2 separate regions of the Homo sapiens genome follow, and region 1 is linked to region 2. Evidence: promoter capture Hi-C in human tissues and cell types (Jung and others, 2019). All regions are on one chromosome and are shown on one strand. The core of a region is centred on a gene start or on the middle of the fragment in contact, and the rest is flanking DNA. Distances in the headings are between cores, read along the strand shown.

Region 1 (3,684 bases), core at 100-2,599, 190 kb before region 2:
AACAGTTTGACTCAAGAATGAGTTATCTGGTGCCTGACATGATTAGAATGCTGCCTGAAAGGCCTTTCTGCACTGATTATATGCATACAGTTTCTCTCTATTATGAATGATCTGGTGTTCCATAAGGTCAGATAGTCTCCTGAAGGCTTTTTCACATTTAGACATTCATGTTGGCTTTTGCCCATATGAATTTTTTGGTGCATACACAATAATAATTCTGTCTGAAAGTTTTTCCACGTTGACTACATTTATAGGCTTCTCTCCAGAATGAGTTATTTGCTGTTCAATAAGGTGAGAATTCTTGCTGCGGGATTTTCCACACCAGTGACATTCATGAGGTTTCTCTCTAATGTGAAATCTCTGATGCCATATAAGTAATCAGCTCCAGCTGATTTCCTACACTCAGGACACTCGCAGTTTCTCACCGGTATGATTTATCTGATGAGCAACAAGTGAGAACTCTAACTGAACCATTTCCAACACTGATTACAGTCACGAAGCTTCTTTCCAGTATGAGTTATTTTATGTGCAACAAGGCCAGAGCTGTATAGAAAGATTTCCTACCTTGACTACATTCATAAGGCTTCTCTCTATTACACTTTCCCTGATGCCAATTAAAATCAAGGATGTCACTGAAATATTTCTCACATTGATTACATGGAATTGTTTTTCTTCAGTATGAGTTTTCTATTGCCCAATTAGATGAGATCTCCTGCTGAAAGCTCTCTGACGTTCCCGATGTTCCCAGAGTCTTCAGTATACGTCTAACAAGGTGGGAGCACCAGGCTGAAAAACTTTCCACATTGATTACATTCATAAATTTTCTATCTGGTATAAGTTGTGATGTGCAACTAGGTGAGAGCTCCATCAAAAAGATTTACCATGTTGAATACATCCATGGGGTTTCTCTCCAGGATGAGTCCTCCCCCTTTGAGAAAGGCAAGAGCTATAAAAGAAGTTTTTCTCAAATTTATTATAATCACATGAATTATTTTATTTTTTTTTTTGAGTCTTGCTTTGTTGCCCAGGCTGTAGTGCAGTGGTGCGATCTCTGCTCACTGCAAGTTCCGCCTCCTGGGTTCATGCCACTCTCCTGCTTCAGCCTCTGGAGTAGCTGGGATTACAGACCCCCGCCACTATGCCTGGCTAATTTTGTTTTTGTATTTTTAGTACAGATGGAATTTCACCGTGTTAGCCAGGATGGTCTCGATCTCCTGACCTCGTGATCCGCCCACCTCGGCCTCCCAAAGTGCTGAGATTACAGGCGGGAGCCACCGTGCCTGGCCAAATTATTTTATCTTTTAAGATTCTCTGGTGTACATTTAGGGATATACTGGGGGTTGTTTTTTGTTTTTTCCTTTTGGCCAGTAGAGATCTAGTGTTGTTCAAGTTGTCTATATTTACTATAGTTATAAAATTTTCCTCCTGTATGACTTTTCTTCTGAATATTAAAGGGTAAAACATGGCAGAAATAAAGATTATTGTTGGCATGCTTATACAGTTTATCTTTTGTTTGCTTTCTTATTAGATGATTAAGGTGAAGCTCTGACAGAAAGTTGGTACACACTCATTTTTGCACAATTTTTCACTTCCATAATTTTTTTTTTTGAGACAGAGTCTCGTTCTGTCGCCCAGGCTGGAGTGCAGTGGTGCGATCTTGGCTCACTGCAACCTCTGCCTCCCAGGTTCAAGCAATTCTCCTTCCTCAGCCTCCTGAGTAGCTGGGATTATGGGCGCGCACCACCACGCCCTGCTAATTTTTGTACTTTTAGTAGAGTCGGGGTTTCACTATGTTGATCAGCTGGTCTCGAATCCCTGACCTCGTGATCTGCCAGCCTCGGCCTCCCAAAGTGCTGGGATTACCGGCATGAGCCACCGTGCCCGACTATAATTTTTCTAATGATTATTGAAATAAACTTATTTTTCAAACTTTTATTCTGTGAGCCAGGTTTATGGAAATATTATAGTATGAATTATCTGGAGTGGAAAAAAGTTGGAACTCAGGAAATAACAGAAAATTCAAATAGAAGATGACATAGACTCCCATCCTGAAATTAAATCTTATGTTTTCATTTTTGGATGACTCTCGTTTTTGCCCAAGTGCATGCTCACTTTTACATGTCTAGAAAAACTTCATACCTTGTGGCTGGGCTCAGTAGCTCACGCCTGTAATTCCAGCACTTTGAGAGGCTGAAGTGGGCAGACCACAAGGTCAGGAGTTCAAGACCAGCCTGACCAACGCGGTGAAACCCTGTCTCTACTAAAAATACAACAATTAGCCAGGCATGGTGGCGGGAGGCTCAGCTACTCGGGAGGCTGAGGCAGGAGAATTGATTGAATCTGGGAGGCAGAGGTTGCAGTGAGCCAAGGTCATGCCATTGCATTCCAGCCTGGGCAACAGGGCAAGACTGTCTAAAAAAAAAAAAAAAAAAAGAAAAAGAAAAAAAAAAACTTCATACATTGAACCTTACATTCATATTTTCTCTTAACTAATTATAGCAGACATCACTTTCAATTTGCTCCAGCCTACTTCTTCCCCCTCATCTGCACCTCTTTCAGTGTAAAATCCTAGCATTCACCTCCCACACTCTTCTCTATTTCCAAACACAACATAAACAATACTGTAGTAAACACCCCCGGACACCCAGAATTAGTGCCTTCATTTCTATAGGTCAGAGCCCCTCCAGTGGGACTGCACAAGTTGAAGGATAAGTGTATTTTTGATTCTCTTAGGTATTACCAAATTACTTTCCAAAGTGAGAATAATAGTCCCTATTCTTTCCAGCATTGGGTATTATCCTTTGTATTTTGCCAGTATTTTGGGTAAAAGTAACATTTTGTGTAATTTGTATTCCCTAGCTACTTGTGATTTCAGGATCTTTACATATTCTTACTGGTTATTTGAGGTTTTGTTTTCTGTGTTTTGTCTAATTAATATTTTTTTCTTTTTTGGCACTTTATAGGCGTTCATGATAGTTTATCAATGTTAATCTCGTCTGTCATTTGTGTAACAAATATTTTTCTCAATACATAGTTTATTCTCTTTTTAAATTTATGGTATCTATTTTAGCATACAAAAAATTCTTTTTAGGCCAGATGCAGTGGCTCATGCTTGTAATCTCAGCACTTTGGGAAGCTCAGGCAAGAGAATCACTTGAGGCCAGTTCAAGACAGCCTGGCCAACATGGCAAAATCCATCTCTACTAAAAATACAATCATCAGCCAGGCCTGGCGGTGCATGCCTGTAATCCCAGCGACTCAGGCGGGTGAGGCATGAGAATCGTTTGAACTCAGGAGGCAGAGGTTGCAGTGAGCCGAGATTGCACCACTGCACTCCAGCCTAGGTGACAGAACAAGACTTTGTCTCGAAAAAAAAAAAAATTCTTTTTATGTAAAGTATGTTGTCTACTCTTCCTTTATGAATAGATCTGAGTTTTTTGTCTTGCTTTAAAAAGTATTGCAAGCCACAGATTTTATGTTTATGTAGTCTTCTAAATTTTCTTTTGCACTTTTTAAAACATGCAAATCTGGCCAGGTGCGGTGACTCAAGCCTGTAATCCCAGCACTTTAGGAAGCCAGGGCGGGTGGATAGCTTGAGGTCAGGAGTTTGAGAACAGCCTGGCCAACATGGTGAGACCCTGTCTCTACTAAAAATACAAAAATTAGCCAGGGCATTATGCCACG
Region 2 (3,342 bases), core at 194-2,693:
AGCATCCTCCAGGGTCCTGGGCTGAGGTCTGTGGGAGGAGATGCTAAGTTTATCAGGGATGAGGGTAAAGAGGAGGTCTTAGCAGAAGGCACCAGAGGTCCATGGGTGTGTCTGGGGTCTATATGGGGGCTGATGTGGAACACCTAGGCCAATGTGGGGGTACCTGAGCTGATGAGAGTCCTGGACTGATGGGTGGCTGTTTCTGGAAGATGAAGAGGGCCTGGGATGATGTGAAGGGGACTGAGGTCTACATGGCTGGTGAGGAGGATCTGGGCCCCCCCATGGGCAATGCTGTGGTGGCCCTGGGGTCCTAGAAGTCTACTTTGGTAGGGGTCTCTGATTAATGTTGGGGATGTGTGTGTGTGAGAGAGTGTCACTTGGAGGGCTCAGTGCCTGTGGAAGGGCCAGGTTCACCTGGCATGGGCACTGAGATCTGCAGCCCGAGCCCCAAATTCTATTGCGGGGATGGGCAGAAGGGCTTTGCCGCTGATGCCGGATGCTTAGTGACATAGAAGACGTGTTCACTGCGCCAGTCAGTGAATGGTTCTGGCTTTGAGAAGGGGGCTTACAGTGGGGAGGGCGTTGGGAGCTTAGGATGCCACACGGAGGAGTTCCATAATAAACGAGCTGGGGAAGTGTGCAAGGGCAGCGCACTGGGAATACAGGGGAGGGGCAGCGACGACGGCTGTGGACGGCTGGTTGGGGGGAGGATGGTGGGGTGATTGGGTGGGGGATGGGTCGGGGGCGGCTGTTCAGGAGGGAGATGGGCCTGGGGCGGGGAGGGGGAGCTTGTAGGGAGAGAGACGGGTCGGGGGCTGCTGTTCCAGTGGGGGATGGGCCCAAGGGGCCGGGTAGGGAGGGAGATGGGTCCGGGGGCGGCTGTTCAGGAGGGAGATAGGTCCCGGGATGCTGATCAGGTGTGGAAGGGAGAACTTGGACGCGGCCGAGCGGTGTTTGGGCGGGCAATGGGGGTACGTAGAGGGGCTTCGGCCTCAAACGGACAGGCGGATGCCAACAGGGGTCGGGGTCCCTGCGGAAGGGGCGGCCCCAGCCCCCCCAGTCCCCGCCCCGCGTGGCCTCTAGCCTTCCCCTTCCCTCCCCTACGGCGACCTCAGGACTCCCGATGGGCTCTGGAACCCCGGCCCGGCCCGCCCCCTCCCGGGCCCGGGCCCGCCTCCCCCGACGCGCGCCCCTGGACCGCGATCCCGGGCCAGCTCCCGCCGACGCGGCGCCGAGACCCTCCCGGGTGGGCGTCCCGATGGACGCTCTGGCGGGCGGAGGGACGGATGGGCCGCGGCGGACTCACCGCGCGCGGGCTTCGCTCGGGCCTGGGCCACTCGGTCATGGCGACCCCTGGGCTGGCGAGCGCGCCCAACGCCGCGGGCGGACCCCATCCCCGCACCCTGCGCGCCGCGGGCGGCCGCCATTGGTCCGCTGGATCACGCCGGGCGTCGGTGACAAGTCACCGCTGCGGGACTCCCGGGCAGGGGCGGGGCTGTGACGCACGAGGCGGCCGAGGCCAATCAGAAGCCGCCTGGGATGAGCGCCCCGCCCCCGCCGTGCCCTCCAGTTACCTCGGGCCGCGGTTCCAGTCGCCTTGGCAACGGGTCGCGCAGCGTCAGGGACGCTGCTGCGGAAAGTGGAGACGGTGGCGGCTGCGGGGATGCGCATGTACGATGGGGCCGCGGGGCAAAACGACGGCATTCCAGACACGCAACCGTTTTATACAGTGTCCAAGAGTAGTATGTTAAAACATTGTTTTTAATATAAATATGTTTAGTACAAGTATGTCCCAGACTAGGATCGCCACTCTTAGCAAATAAAAATACAGGACGTCGGCCGGGCGCGGTGACACGCCTGTAATCCCAGCACTTTGGGAGGCCAAGGCAGGCGGATCACGAGGTCATGAGTTCGAGACCAGCCTGACCAATATGGTGAAACCCCCGTCTCTACTAAAAATACAAAAATTACCTGGGCGTGGTGGCGCATGCCTGTAATCCCAGTTTCTCAGGAGGCTGAGACAGGAGAATCACTGGAACCGGGGAGGCGGAGGTTGCAGTGAGCCGAGATTGCTCCATTGCACTCCAGTTTTCCAGCGTGGGTGACAGAGCGAGACTCCGTCCCCCCACCCCCAAAAAAAAGAAAGAAAAAAGAAACCTCAGTTATATGTAAACTCAAGAAAAACAAGGAGGCCGGGCGCGATAGCTCACGCCTGTAATCCCAGAACTCGGGAGGCCGAGGCAGGCGGATCACCTGAGGTCGGGTGTTTCAGACCAGCCTGGCCAACATGGTGAAACCCCGTCTCTACTAAAAATACAAAAATTAGCCAGGCATGGTGGTGCGTGCCTGTAATCCCAGCTACTCGGGAGGCTGAGGTAGGAGAATCGCTGGAACTGGGGAAGCCGAGGTTGCAGTGAGCCGAGACCTGCCAACGCACTCCAGCCTTGCCTGGGCAACAGAGTGAGACTCTGTCTCAAAAAAAAAAAAAAAAAAAAAAAAAGAAAGAAAGAAAAAGAAAAACAAGGAATTAGTATCAATGTGTCCTATATTTCATATACTTTAACGAAACCTTACATAAGAACATTTCATATAAATAAGTTTTAATATTAATGTCTACAATGTAACCATGTGCCAGAATAGTAGGGTTCCACAGATACTCGTTTTGTATCTGAAATCAGGTGGGGGTGAGATCATGATGCAAGGAGGGTCCTCAGCTCTGGGACTGAGCTCAGGATAGCTGAAGCTGCTCATTGCTGAAGAAGAAGCAGGAGAGTGTGAGCTAAGAAAAGAGAGGAGGACCCACCTCCAGGGGGTCCAGCATCTGCTGGACAGCTGTTTATTGAGGGCCTATGTGTACCAGGCACTGTTCTGGACACTGGGGTGGGAGCACATCAGTGAGAGGGACTGATAGGGCTTTAGTCCCTTGGAAGCCCATGTTCATGGGGCAAACACCAGTAAACAAAGCAGATGCTTCATGGAAATATAAATACCTAGAATAAAATAAAACGAGGCCTGGAGATTAAGAGTCCCAGGAGTGGCAGGGAGGGGAGGGGCTGCCTCAGCTGGATAATCAGAGCCGTGTCTCCGCATCTTTGCTGCTGGCGGCTGGTCCCTGGAATGTTGTGTGTGAATGCCACTTTGTGCAGAAACCACTATGGGAAAACCAAATTAGGGTGCTAAGGGCTTATTATTCTCCTTCTTGAAAATTAGGCACTTGTAATGACATGGTTCATTTTCTTGGTAGCTGAAATTGGCGTGGCCCTTTGGGGCAGTGAAGGCTCATGTGTGCATTTATAACTGCCACCCATTTGGGAAATCTCCCTTGAGAGAACACTGACTTAG

The links. The method cuts DNA at HindIII sites, captures the fragments that hold promoters and counts their contacts. A contact is called where the count stands out against the background at its distance.
Region 1: a contact is called between a fragment that was not itself captured here and the fragment with the promoter of ZSCAN1 in region 2, in 2 of the 25 tissues and cell types used here (dorsolateral prefrontal cortex and stomach).

The regions. Positions count from the first base shown.
Region 1 is chr19:58,221,788-58,225,471 of GRCh38, reverse strand. It overlaps the pseudogene LOC100419847. Among named protein-coding and RNA genes, the nearest start is that of ZNF544, 5.3 kb to the left of the region's middle. The HindIII fragment of the contact is 6,243 bases long and covers 1-3,684 here.
Region 2 is chr19:58,032,126-58,035,467 of GRCh38, reverse strand. ZSCAN1 (zinc finger and SCAN domain containing 1) reads right to left here and starts at 1,443. Exons shown (of 6, transcript NM_182572.4): 1 at 1,307-1,443. The HindIII fragment of the contact is 19,074 bases long and covers 1-3,342 here.